Regions from separate parts of the Homo sapiens genome. Here all the other regions are linked to region 2. Evidence: promoter capture Hi-C in human tissues and cell types (Jung and others, 2019). All regions are on one chromosome and are shown on one strand. The core of a region is centred on a gene start or on the middle of the fragment in contact, and the rest is flanking DNA. Distances in the headings are between cores, read along the strand shown.

What was found. The method cuts DNA at HindIII sites, captures the fragments that hold promoters and counts their contacts. A contact is called where the count stands out against the background at its distance.
Region 1: a contact is called between a fragment that was not itself captured here and the fragment with the promoter of HSBP1L1 in region 2, in 4 of the 25 tissues and cell types used here (H1 embryonic stem cells, lymphoblastoid cells, mesendoderm cells and 1 more).
Region 3: a fragment that was not itself captured here is called in contact with the fragment with the promoter of HSBP1L1 in region 2 in 1 of the 25 tissues and cell types used here (H1 embryonic stem cells).

Annotation. Positions count from the first base shown.
Region 1 is chr18:80,155,561-80,159,561 of GRCh38, forward strand. PARD6G (par-6 family cell polarity regulator gamma) reads right to left here. Exons shown (of 3, transcript NM_032510.4): 3 at 1,672-4,001. All of the region lies in intron 1 of PARD6G-AS1 (PARD6G antisense RNA 1), which reads left to right. Among named protein-coding and RNA genes, the nearest start is that of PARD6G-AS1, 9.6 kb to the left of the region's middle. The HindIII fragment of the contact is 3,906 bases long and covers 741-4,001 here.
Region 2 is chr18:79,961,867-79,965,892 of GRCh38, forward strand. HSBP1L1 (heat shock factor binding protein 1 like 1) reads left to right here and starts at 2,777. Exons shown (of 4, transcript NM_001136180.2): 1 at 2,777-2,920. The coding sequence starts at 2,870. RefSeq lists an enhancer at 1,259-1,338 and a silencer at 2,434-3,003. The HindIII fragment of the contact is 12,330 bases long and covers 1-4,026 here.
Region 3 is chr18:80,136,861-80,140,847 of GRCh38, forward strand. It overlaps ADNP2 (ADNP homeobox 2), which reads left to right. Exons shown (of 4, transcript NM_014913.4): 4 at 1-3,486. The coding sequence ends at 1,949. Among named protein-coding and RNA genes, the nearest start is that of PARD6G-AS1, 9.1 kb to the right of the region's middle. The HindIII fragment of the contact is 6,027 bases long and covers 1-3,987 here.

The sequences.
Region 1 (4,001 bases), core at 1,444-3,943, 190 kb after region 2:
CAAGTTTATAGGCAAGTCCTATAAGCTTGGGGGATTAGCCAATGGTTCTCAAATGTGATTCCTGCACCAGCAGCATCAGCATCTACTGGGAACTTGTTAGAAATGAAAATTCTCAAACTCCACCCAAGTTCCTTAAATCAGAGCCTCTGGGGTAATCCAGGCACTCTTTTATTTGTTTTGTTTTTTTGAGATGGAGTTTGCTCTGCTGCCCAGGCTGGAGTGCAGTGGTGTGATCTTGGCTAACTGCAACTTCAGCCTCCCGGGTTCAAGCGATTCACCTGCCCCAGCCTCCAGAGTAGCTGGGATTACAGGTGCACGCCACCATGCCCAGCTATTTTTTTGTATTTTTAGTAGAGCTGGCGTTTCGCCATCTTGGCCAGGCTGGTCTCGAACTCCTGACTTCAGGCAATCTGCCCGCCTTGGCCTCCCAAAGTGCTGGGAATACAGGTATGCACCACTGTGCCTGACCAGCAGGTGCTCTTTAAACAAGCTGTTCGAGGGGACGAGGGTTCACCCTCCGGTTTGTTTGAAACAGGAGGTCCTTGAGCTCACGCTGAGCAGCTTACCTTTCCAGAAATGGGCAAGCTGGAAATCAGCTAAGTAGGTTCATACTTTCAGTAGGAATGGTACACATTAAGTATCTTAGTGCATTTGGGAACTGGCCATTAGTGCAGCCTTACACCATTTTAATAAACTATTCAGACCGTGTGAGTTTTAGTGCTGCCATAAAAAACTTCATACTAGTGCCAACTTTTAAAATGCAAGGATCAAAAGTTGACCCTACCACACTTAGTTCATACTTGCATCCTTTAAAAACATTCCACAGAGGTGCAGGTAACTTACATGTCCTTCTGTTGGAAAATTTAGATTTTCGCTAATATAGATTTCACAACAATCATGGCATTTTTTAGATACTTTTGCACCTTGCCACAAAACTCTCACTCGCTGTGATCATTTTATGTGAAACCATAAAATATTAAATACCCTCACCAAATTGTGAATAAATTTGCCATATGATGTGGACTATCAGGTCAGGGAAACCCAAGCCTGAGGCCACACCCGGCTGGCAGCCAGGGGCACATGTGGCCTCTGCTTACACTTAAGCCTCGTATCTCATCCTGCTGAAAGCGGACATTAGTTTTGGAGAGTGTACCCAGTGTTGGCACTTGACTCCTGCCTCATCAGACTGTGGGGGTCAACTGTCCAGCTGCCGACAGTCCAGAGTTGCTGTGGGGACTCAGCAGGTGGCGAGTACTTGTGAAGCTCCTAGTAGGGTACCTGTGCTGCTTCCAGGATGCTGGTGCTCAATGTGATCACATCTGTAATTTGCTGAGTAACTGAATTTGTAATTGTAATTTGACTCTTGATGGCTGCCAGAACGACAGTGTTAATGAAAACCGTGCCAACCAGGGCACATTTAGGAAGGACTGTGTGCTGTATAAATATTCAGAAAAGCTTTTTCAAAAAGACTTCGAGAGAGGGTTCTGGACTGTCATCTGTCTATCTGATGAGCTTGGGCCCATTTTCTCATCTGCGTCCCTCAGAGAGTATGTGCGGATTCCGTGAAAGATGGTACATGATAAGCACTTGATAAATCTGTCATTCTCTTTGAGGGATTACTTTATCTCTGGTATTCTCTTCCACTTAGAACACAGGTGAAATATTCATGCATTTTGTTTACTCAAAAGTCAAAAAAGTTTTTATTCTCTGATATATAAAACCAAGAAAACTTTAATACATAATATGCATAGTTTTGTTTTTTTAAAAGGAGAAAGTGGCAGAAGTACAGACCTGTGTAGAAAAATACACCCAAGCAGCTGTTCTAAGCAGTAATTCCTAAAATTATGAATAGCACACAAATCTCAGTGAAAGCCTCATTTCTTAAAAAAAAACTCACATTTGCTTAACAACTTAAAATGTGATAAGAAATATAACCTTCCTTCTTGATAGCCGACCCAGTTATATAACAGACATTCAAGAATCAGCAATAACTTAGTAAAAGAACATTTCCTTTGTGAGGGTAACATTATTAGTTTTAGTTCCACAAAAACTGCTTCTGACTGCTGGGGCACTGAACGACATGCCCTTCATCAGAGAGCAAGTCCGGGGGGTGCGGATCCTCACCGGAGAGGTCATGGGGAAGCATCTTTGGTCTTCTCTTGCTTAGGAACAAAGGGCCAGCAATCCATTGCATACAAATAACATCAAACACAGGTGCAGGAATTCACAACTCCTCAGCAAAAGCTATTTCTTAAAAATAGAACTTGCTTTTCACTTAATATTCAGAAAAAATGAAAATGCTGAGATGCAGTTTTCCCTCTTAGCAGTTCCATGTTCACGAAGTCAGGACAGTTCTGCCACTGACCAGCAGGTGGTGCTGGACCACAAGGAGAAGCAGCGGGAGGTACGCAGCTCCGACAACCTAGAAAAATATTTCTTTACCTGTATCTGTATGAAAGATTTGGTCAGAGTTCTCAAAGTATAAATGTAACATTTTATTCAAGCAAAACACATTATATAAAATTTAATTGTATCAAATAGGAATTTTTAAAATTACTAAATATATAAACGTTGCTGGAAGATCAACATAAAGTGAGGATGAATTTAGTATTTGTTAAAAATCACTAAGTTCCACGTGACTTCTTATAGTTAAAAGTGAGAACTGCCAGTGACCATTCTAGAAATGAAAATTAGCATGTATTGTGACTTACTAAAAGAAACGTCTGTTTCAGAAAACAAAGATGAGAACTCACGTGCAAATGACTGCATTCTCAAAGACATTGCTGGACATGTGCGATGCTTATCCTTCATTTCTGCTGAAAACATTTCCGAAATCGCCCTCAGAGTCAGTCAACCCACAGGAAAAGGGTCATCTTAGAGGCAATAGAGGCTTACATCCCAAATGGGACTGCTGAGCCCAGTCCAGCAGAGCTGCTGCTTCCTACCCTGGATTTCCCCTTGAGGCTGAATGGGCCACCTATGTGGGTCACAAAAATAGCCCCTGGTCTGGTGCTGTGGCTCACGTCTATAATCCTAGCATTTTTGGAGGCTGAGGGGGGACCGTATCACCTGAGGTCAGGAGTTCAAGACCAGCCTGACCAACGTGGTGAAATCCCATCTCTACTAAAAATACAAAAATTAGCTGGGTATGGTGGCATGTGCCTGTCCCAGCTCCTTGGGAGGCTGAGGCAGGAGAATTGCTTGAACCCAGGAGGCGGAGGTTGCAGTGAGCTGAGATCCCTCCAGCTTGGATGACAGAACAAGACACTATGTCTCAAAACAAACAAAAAAAAGCCCCGGAACAATTCCACAGCTGCGGGTGCCATAAGTGTGCTGGTGGGAGCTCTCCTGTCCCAACCGAATTATGACTATGAACAGTGTGAAAATCTGGAATTCATCTCCATGGTTGTACATGGACAGGTTTGGGTGTATTTTTTTTTTTTCCCGAGACAGAGTCTTGCTCTGTCACCCAGGCTGGAGTGCAGTGGTGCGATCTCAGCTCACTGCAACCTCTGCCTCCCGGGTTCAAGCGATTCTCCTGCCTCAGCCTCCCAAGGTAGCTGGGATTACAGGCGCCTGCCACCACACCTGGCTAATTTTTATATTTTTAGTAGAGACAGGGTTTCACCATGTTGGCCATGCTGGTCTCGACCTCCTGACCTCGTGATCAGCCCACGTAGGCCTCCCAAAGTGCTGGGATTACAGACGTGAGCCACTGCACCTGGCTGCATTCGTTATTAAAAACCAGCCTCTTGTCACGTACATCAGCACAGTCGGCCTCGCCTGCAAGTCAGCAGAGAGCACAGCAAGAATGCTGAGATATGTTGCATGGGCCAACTTACTTAAAAACATGAATTTGACTATTTTAAAAAAGTAATTTTAAAGCTTCACTTTAAAAACAAAGTATTTGTAAAAATTTTAAAAAGCATTTTTTTGCACTTGGTCAGATCTTTTCTATCACTTTGCAAAGGCGCCAAGACCTGCACTCAGGCCTGGTATAG
Region 2 (4,026 bases), core at 1,527-4,026:
AAGAGCTCTGTGGCCCCTGCTCCGCCTGAGTAAGGGAGGAGCGGCAGCCAGGGAGCAGCCCCGCCCTGGAGACACCGAAAGCCCTTGGGTCTGCGCCTGCCCCCACCACGAGGGAGCCGTCCCCTGAAGCCATGAGCTTGATGCTGGGCTGTCCCTGGAGTAAAGCTTCCGGGAACTCCGTGCCTGCAGAGTAAGGGAAGAGGGGACGTTCTAGAACTTTCTGGAAGGGAGGAAGGAGGGCAGTCTGACTGGCTCCCTGCTCATTTAGCTGTCTGTGGTTAGGAAAGCTGCCTGTGGGCTGATGAGGAACCCTGTCGTGGCCCTGCCGTGGGGCACCACTGCCCATCTCCTCCCGCCTCCAGAGATGAGCGCCCTCTGAAGAGCTTGGAGGGCTGACGCCAGCCCGCTGTGTCTGCCTCCTCTCTACAGGCGTAATTTCCTTTTCCCCTAAGTTAGCTTGAGTGACTTCTGGTTCTTGACACTGAGGTGTGTTTCTGATGGAAACACCACCGGCTTGTACTCCTTGCCCCCCACGCCAGGCAGGCTTTCCTGGGTGCAGGCCGTCCACCCTGTACTGTGGCATCTTCTGGCCCTGCCTCCTCCTCCTCAGCAGCCACCCACACTGGCTTTCCCGAGAAGCCAGAAGCCGCCCGGCAGGATTCCTTAGGCCTGAATGGTCCTGGGAGTGGGCCGGGAGCCACAGCACAGCAGCCACTTTCCACCCACACCGCGTCTTTCTCAGCCGTCCACACTGGCCCCTACAACTAAGTTTGTATCTCAGCCTCTCTCAGAGACAGAAAAAAAGAGGAGGATGCTAAAAGCACACAAAAAGTGGCAAAATGGCCATGCTTTTAAAAAATAATTTTAACAGCTTCATTGAAATGTAATTCACATACCACAAAACCCACCCATTTAAAGGGCATAATTCAACAGTTTTGAGTATATTTACAGGGTTGTGAAACCTTCTTACGATCTAATTTTAGAACATTTTTGTCCCCCCACAAAGAAACCCCAGACCTCCTAAATCTCTCCGCACTCTCCCTCGTCCCTGCAGCCCCCAGCAACAGAAGTCAACTTTCTGTCTCCGTGGCCTTGCCTGTTCCAACTCTCCATGGACTTACCACTCAGGGTCTTCACGCCTGGCCTCTGCCACCCAGCGTTGTTCCGGAGGCCCGCCTGCTTCGTAGCGTGCGTCAGCGCCTCACTCCTTTGTGTGGCTGAGGAATATTCTATCATCTGCATTTTGTCACCTACTTATTGGGGGTGGACATTTGGGTGGTTTCCACCTTTTGAGCATTACTGATGCTGCAGTAGACTTGGTGCACTCGCGCTGTCGTTTCGGTATATGCCTAGGGGTGGCGCGGCTGGGCCCTGTGGAAACTGCTTCACTTCTGAGGACCCACCCGACTTTTTCACAGCACTGCAGCCTTTCACAGCCCACCGGCTGCGTGGGGGGGGCCACAATCCCCACACGCCTCTCGGACTTACGTTTGTCTCTCTGATTCTAGCCATGCTGGTGGGTTGCAGTGGGAGCTCATTGTGGTTTTGGTTTGTGTTTTCCTGATGACTGGTTGTAATGAGAAAAACCGAGAATCACATTTAAAACCTTACCCTAAAGTGGGAGTTGCTGAGAGACCAAAGAATGACTGGGCGGAGTCCAGCTTGGTGAGTAGGTGAGTTTATTAGGACTCACATGTGGGGCACTCGTGGGCAGCAGGACAACTCTAGAGATGAGCGTGCTTCTGTCCCTAAGCTGCTTTTGAGCTAATTTTCTGCCTCTTTGCGCCGTCTGTGTGATGGGCCTGCTCCCTGTGGTGGTTCTCACATCCCCTCCGGGCTGTTTGGGTTCTCAGGGACACCTGCTCCTCGCTGGGCACCGTGGCCTGGACTCACCGCCTGGCCTTTAGGGTTCAGGCCACAGACATCCGCCCTGAAGTAACCTGGCGGGAACCGCCACGCCACAGCGGTGGTGCTGGGTGGCTGTGTTTTATTTATCCGCACATGGAGACACCAGAGCTTCCAGGTGTGGTCACTGGGCTGTGCCCTAGGGATGCTGGGGTGACCAGACATAGCCCTGTTCCCACAGCGCTGCACAGGGGCACAGACATGGCAACAAGACTGGTAACCCTAAAACACCGTCCTGGGAGGTCACCCACAAGGTGACGAGCCACAACCCAGGTGTGAAAGAGGCCAGGGAAGGCCCGGCGTGGTGGCCCAGGCCTGCGGTCCCAGCACTTTGGGAGGCCGAGGCAGGAGGATCACTTGTGCCCAGGAATTCGAGACCAGCCTGGGCAACATAGTAAGATCCCGTCTCTACAAAAAATAAAAAAGATCAGCCGGACCTGGTGGCGCGCGCCCGTGGTCCCAGCTACTGGCCAGGCCGAGGCAGGAGGATCGCTTGGGCCCGGGAAGTCGAGGCTGCGGGGAGCCATAGTCGCCACTGCACCCCAGCCTGGGCCACAGAGCGAGCCCCCGTCTCTGAGAAACGCAGCAGGGGTGACCGAGGCCCATGCACTGCCCGTGCGGAGCGTTTTGGGGGTGTAGGTGGCCGGTGGCGCCCACGGGCCCTCTTGAGTAAGGCGGCTCCGCCCAGGCCGTCCCGGGGCCTCGGCTCGGCTCGGCTCGGGAAGCCGCAGAGCCTGGGGGCGCGGACCAGTCCTCCGAGGCGGCCGCTCGGTGACATTGCGTCCCTGCAGGTGCAGCGCCCGCCTCTCCGCTCCGGCCCCGCCTCCGCCCTGGAACGCAGCGCGCTCCGCCCGAGGCCTCCCGGCGGCCCATACGGGAATCGCGGAGCTTAGCTGTCGCCACCTCGCGCCGGGTCCGCGCGGCCCACGGGACCCCCCACTGACGCCCCCGGCCAGCGGTCCACATGGACGTGCGGGGCCCTGAAGCCCCCGGCGGGCGCGCGCTGCGGGACGCGGTGAGCCCCTCCCCGACTCCTGCTTCTCTCTGGATGGGGGCGCCCCTGCGGTTCTGGGGGGTTTTGAGGTCCTGGGGGGGGAGCCTGCGGTGCTGGGGGTGCCCTGCGGTCTTCGTGGGGCCCTGAGGTCCTGGGGGGCCTGCGATCCTGAGGACTCCTGTGGTCCTGAGGAGTCCTGAGTGCCTGGGAGGCCTGTGGTCCTGGGGGGGCCCCTGAAGACCTGGGGGACCCTGCGGTCCTGGGGGGGCCTGAGGTGCAGGGGGGAGCCCTGCTGTCCTGGGGGACCCTGCGATCCTCGGGGGGCCTGAGGTCCTGGGGGGAGCCCTGCAGTACTGGGGGGCATTGAGGTCGGGGTCAGTGGGGAAACAACTGGGCCAAAGGGTGCCCGAAAGGGGACCCACGAGTGTCGCAGCGCCCAGGGCTCCGGCCTCTTCCGGGAAATCCTCCCGCTCCCCAGGCCTTCCTACTTGCCAAAGAGTTCCAGGCCCACAAGAGGACTGGCTATGAGGAAGAGACCTGGAATCTGAAGGAATGTGTTGGGCGTTGTGCAAACCCTAACGTAAATTTCCTGACAAAGGTAGAAAGCCCTGGCATGGTTCAGAGGTGGGGCCTCCTCCTATGTCGACGGGATTCTAGATTCACACCATGGTACGTGGGGCTCCCTGGGATCTTGAACCCCCAGCTGGGAGAATTTTGTGCTTCTCAGCCTCACTGTTCTCATCTCACCCTGGACACGGTCGCAGGGTGAGGAGTAGATTACACCGTGAATGGTGTGGGACGTCAGTCTGTAAACTACAAAGCAGTATATAAACAGGAAACGCTTTCAGTAGCAATGGTGGTATTTCTGTGTGACCTGGTAAGTAATTTCATAAGAATTCTTGAGGAGCGCAGGGTCACGAGATTTTCTCCTGCATCCTCCTCTGCATGCTTTATGGCCTTGGCTCTGGGCCAAGGTGTGTGATCTCCTGCATTCATGGTGTGTGGTGTGAGGAGGGGGATGGGTCCCTGCCCCGTCTGCACGTGGCCCTCATGATTCCCGCGCTGCTTGTTGAAAAGACTTTCCTTTCCCTCTGAATCCAAAGGCCTTAGCACCTTTGTCAGAAGTC
Region 3 (3,987 bases), core at 516-3,015, 170 kb after region 2:
AGTCAGGAGTTCTCCCTGTGGGCCAGACAGCTCCGTCACGGGTTCTTCCCCCAGGCCAGACAGCCCCATTGAGGGTTATCTCTGCAGGCCAGGTGGTCCCGTCTGGGCTTCTTTCTCCCAACCAGACAGTCTCCTCCTCAGCTGTTGTGCCTGTAAACCAGGGTGTGAATTCTGGTGTTCTGCAGCTTAGTCAGCCTGTTGTGTCGGGAGTTCTTCCTGTGGGCCAGCCAGTGAGGCCTGGGGTCTTGCAACTCAACCAGACTGTGGGCACCAACATTCTGCCTGTGAATCAGCCAGTGAGACCTGGTGCTTCGCAGAACACCACCTTCCTGACATCAGGCTCTATTCTCAGACAGCTCATCCCTACAGGGAAACAAGTGAATGGGATTCCAACCTACACGCTGGCCCCCGTGTCTGTCACTCTGCCGGTTCCCCCTGGAGGCCTTGCGACTGTCGCTCCGCCCCAGATGCCCATCCAGCTCCTGCCGTCAGGTGCAGCTGCACCAATGGCCGGTTCCATGCCCGGCATGCCCTCTCCTCCAGTGCTGGTGAATGCTGCTCAGAGCGTGTTTGTTCAGGCCTCCTCCTCTGCAGCAGACACAAACCAGGTGCTCAAACAGGCCAAGCAGTGGAAGACCTGCCCTGTCTGCAACGAGCTCTTTCCGTCCAACGTCTACCAGGTCCACATGGAGGTAGCGCATAAGCACAGCGAGTCCAAGTCTGGTGAGAAACTTGAGCCTGAAAAACTGGCAGCGTGTGCACCATTTCTAAAGTGGATGAGAGAGAAAACGGTGCGATGTCTGTCTTGTAAGTGCTTGGTCTCTGAGGAAGAGCTTATACACCACTTGCTGATGCATGGCTTGGGGTGCTTGTTCTGTCCATGCACCTTCCATGATATCAAAGGTCTTTCAGAGCACAGCAGGAATAGGCACCTGGGGAAGAAGAAGTTGCCTATGGATTATAGCAACAGAGGTTTTCAATTAGATGTCGATGCCAATGGCAACCTGCTCTTTCCCCACCTTGATTTCATCACCATATTGCCAAAGGAGAAGCTTGGGGAGCGGGAAGTCTACTTGGCAATCCTGGCTGGGATACACTCCAAGTCACTGGTGCCTGTGTATGTGAAGGTGAGGCCTCAGGCTGAGGGCACCCCCGGGAGCACCGGCAAGCGAGTGTCCACCTGCCCCTTTTGCTTTGGCCCCTTTGTGACAACTGAGGCCTATGAGCTGCATTTGAAGGAGAGGCACCACATCATGCCCACAGTCCACACGGTCCTGAAGTCTCCCGCCTTCAAGTGCATCCACTGCTGTGGGGTCTACACGGGAAATATGACCCTGGCTGCCATCGCCGTCCATTTGGTGCGCTGCAGAAGTGCTCCCAAGGACAGCAGCTCAGACCTGCAGGCCCAGCCGGGTTTTATTCACAACAGTGAACTGCTTTTAGTCAGTGGTGAAGTGATGCATGATTCCAGTTTTTCTGTTAAGAGAAAGCTGCCTGACGGCCACTTAGGGGCCGAAGACCAGCGGCATGGGGAGGAGCAGCCTCCCATCCTAAATGCCGATGCAGCCCCGGGTCCAGAAAAGGTGACGAGTGTTGTGCCTTTTAAAAGACAAAGGAATGAAAGCAGAACAGAGGGACCTATTGTCAAGGACGAGGCTCTTCAGATTTTAGCATTAGATCCTAAAAAATATGAAGGCCGTTCTTATGAAGAAAAGAAGCAATTTCTTAAAGATTATTTCCATAAGAAACCATATCCTAGTAAAAAGGAAATAGAACTGTTGTCCTCACTCTTTTGGGTGTGGAAAATTGATGTGGCTTCATTTTTTGGAAAAAGAAGGTATATTTGCATGAAAGCAATAAAAAATCACAAGCCTTCTGTACTTTTAGGCTTTGATATGTCTGAACTTAAAAATGTGAAACATAGATTGAACTTTGAATATGAACCATAAAACTTGCAAAAAAAAAAAAAAGTAACTCTAAAGTAGTAGGTAGATTTTTTTCAGTTGAAATTTCACAGTGTTGTCCTCACTGTGTTGGTGAATCAACCTCAGTGGTCACTGTGCTGCTCTGCAGAGTTACTTCAGGTGCTGGAGAGACCCCTGTTACCAGGAAGCCAGTAGTTATTTCACATCTATTGTTTCCTGCAGTTTGATTTGTAACAGAACAGTTGTTTTCAGGTTTTTTTCTCTGTCATGTAAATGAAATCTTTTGATATTTCATGCACGCCTTGTTTTCCCACTAGTGTCAGTATCGTATGATAAGAAACTGAAATCTATAAATAATTTGCTTTTTCATTAAGGACATTTCAGCCTTTTTCAGAATACTTGATTTAACTGCGAGTGGAAGCATCGATCTCCTTCAGCTTTCCCTGTAGCAGCAGATGGTACAGTGAGTGTTCAGAGACGTGGGTACAAACCCTGTGATGTATGTATAAGGCTCCCTGAGGATGCACTGCATTAACTTACGCTGACTTCTTTGTAAGATCTTTGCTTATAGATTATAATTTAGATCTGTATTTTTTTAGGTTTATCCTAATAGCTGTTTTTTTTTTTAACCATAACTCATAGAAAATCAAATGTTTTTATTTGTTAAAAGTAGACTGAATTTGACATCTGGTATGCTGGTATGTAGCTCATACATCAAGAGTTATTTTACAAATAAATTTATTCTGTAGATGCAGAAATATTTTTCAGTGTAGATTTTCCCTTTTGATATGCTAAGTCATTTCTCCGTTCAGAGGTAAAACAATAAATTTTTAGTGCCTTTAGAATAAACATTGAAAGAATACACCCCAAAACTCTTCTCCTAACTTAACTACTCATAAACTAGTGAAAGGGAAGGTCTATGATACTCAGGAATAAGATTATTGCCCCTGAGTGTGAAAACTAACTTAAATTTCAGCATAGGGTTTCAGGGGACATGGCGAAGTTTACAGACTGAGATCTCAGTCTCCATGGTTGGTACAGTAAGTCTTTGACCACATTTTCTGAAGGTCATGTTTAGTGGAGAAACGGGCTTTTCTCTAGCTGGTTTAGGCTGGAAGCTGTGTCCGGGTCGATGGGATGGCATATTGTTAAAGAATCTCCATTGTCGTCACTGTCCTGTGGATGTTAAACCTCGTTTTTTTCCCCACACGATATTAAAACTTAAAGCACCAGAACCAGTCATGGAGACCAGCCAGTTTAGATGGTAAGTCATATTTCTGGTGGTACACAGCAGAGGAACCCCTTCACTCTATCTTTAGGTAGAAATATTTGGAGGATGTGACAGCCTCTGAGAAACATAATGTTACTATGTGGATTTTAAAAAATATAATACTTGCATGTAATTGCTATAATGTTCATATTTGAGGCAGTTGTGAAACTGGTTTATGATTGTTGGTGTACTCTGTTGTAAATTCAAAGAGAGCTTGTTGAACATTTTTTTTTTTTACCTATTGTTTTCAGAGTGTCTATTTTGAATTAAAATTTGTTACACCGCTGCAAATAGAACTGTTTAATTCTTTTAAAAGTTAAAACATTATTGTGAATCATAGGGATAACCTCTATATGGGAATAGATACCACATTTATTTTCTAAAAAAACCTTACCTGTCATTTGTGTGAAAATAAGAACATAACCCAAAAGGTCTAATTACTGGGGTCACAAAATAGGTGTAACTACAGATTCCTGATGATTCTATACTGGTAGCCCCCAAAGTGCCAAAGAAGGTATGTAACTGGGGTGTCAGTGCTGTGAAGTTTCCTTCACTGTGGCTGTGTTCAGGGTGAGTGTGGAGGAGGTGCTGATGAGGAGGCAGCTGCCGTCTGGCGTGGTTGAATCCTCACCTTCCTTTTGTTGTGTACGTTAGGGTTTCCCAGCCTCAGCACTGCTGACATTTTGGGTCAGGTAATTCTCTGTGGTGGGTGGCTATTCTGTCACTGTAGGATGTTGAGCAGTGTCGTTAGACACTAGTAGCACGCATGTCCCTACTCTCTCCCCATTGTGG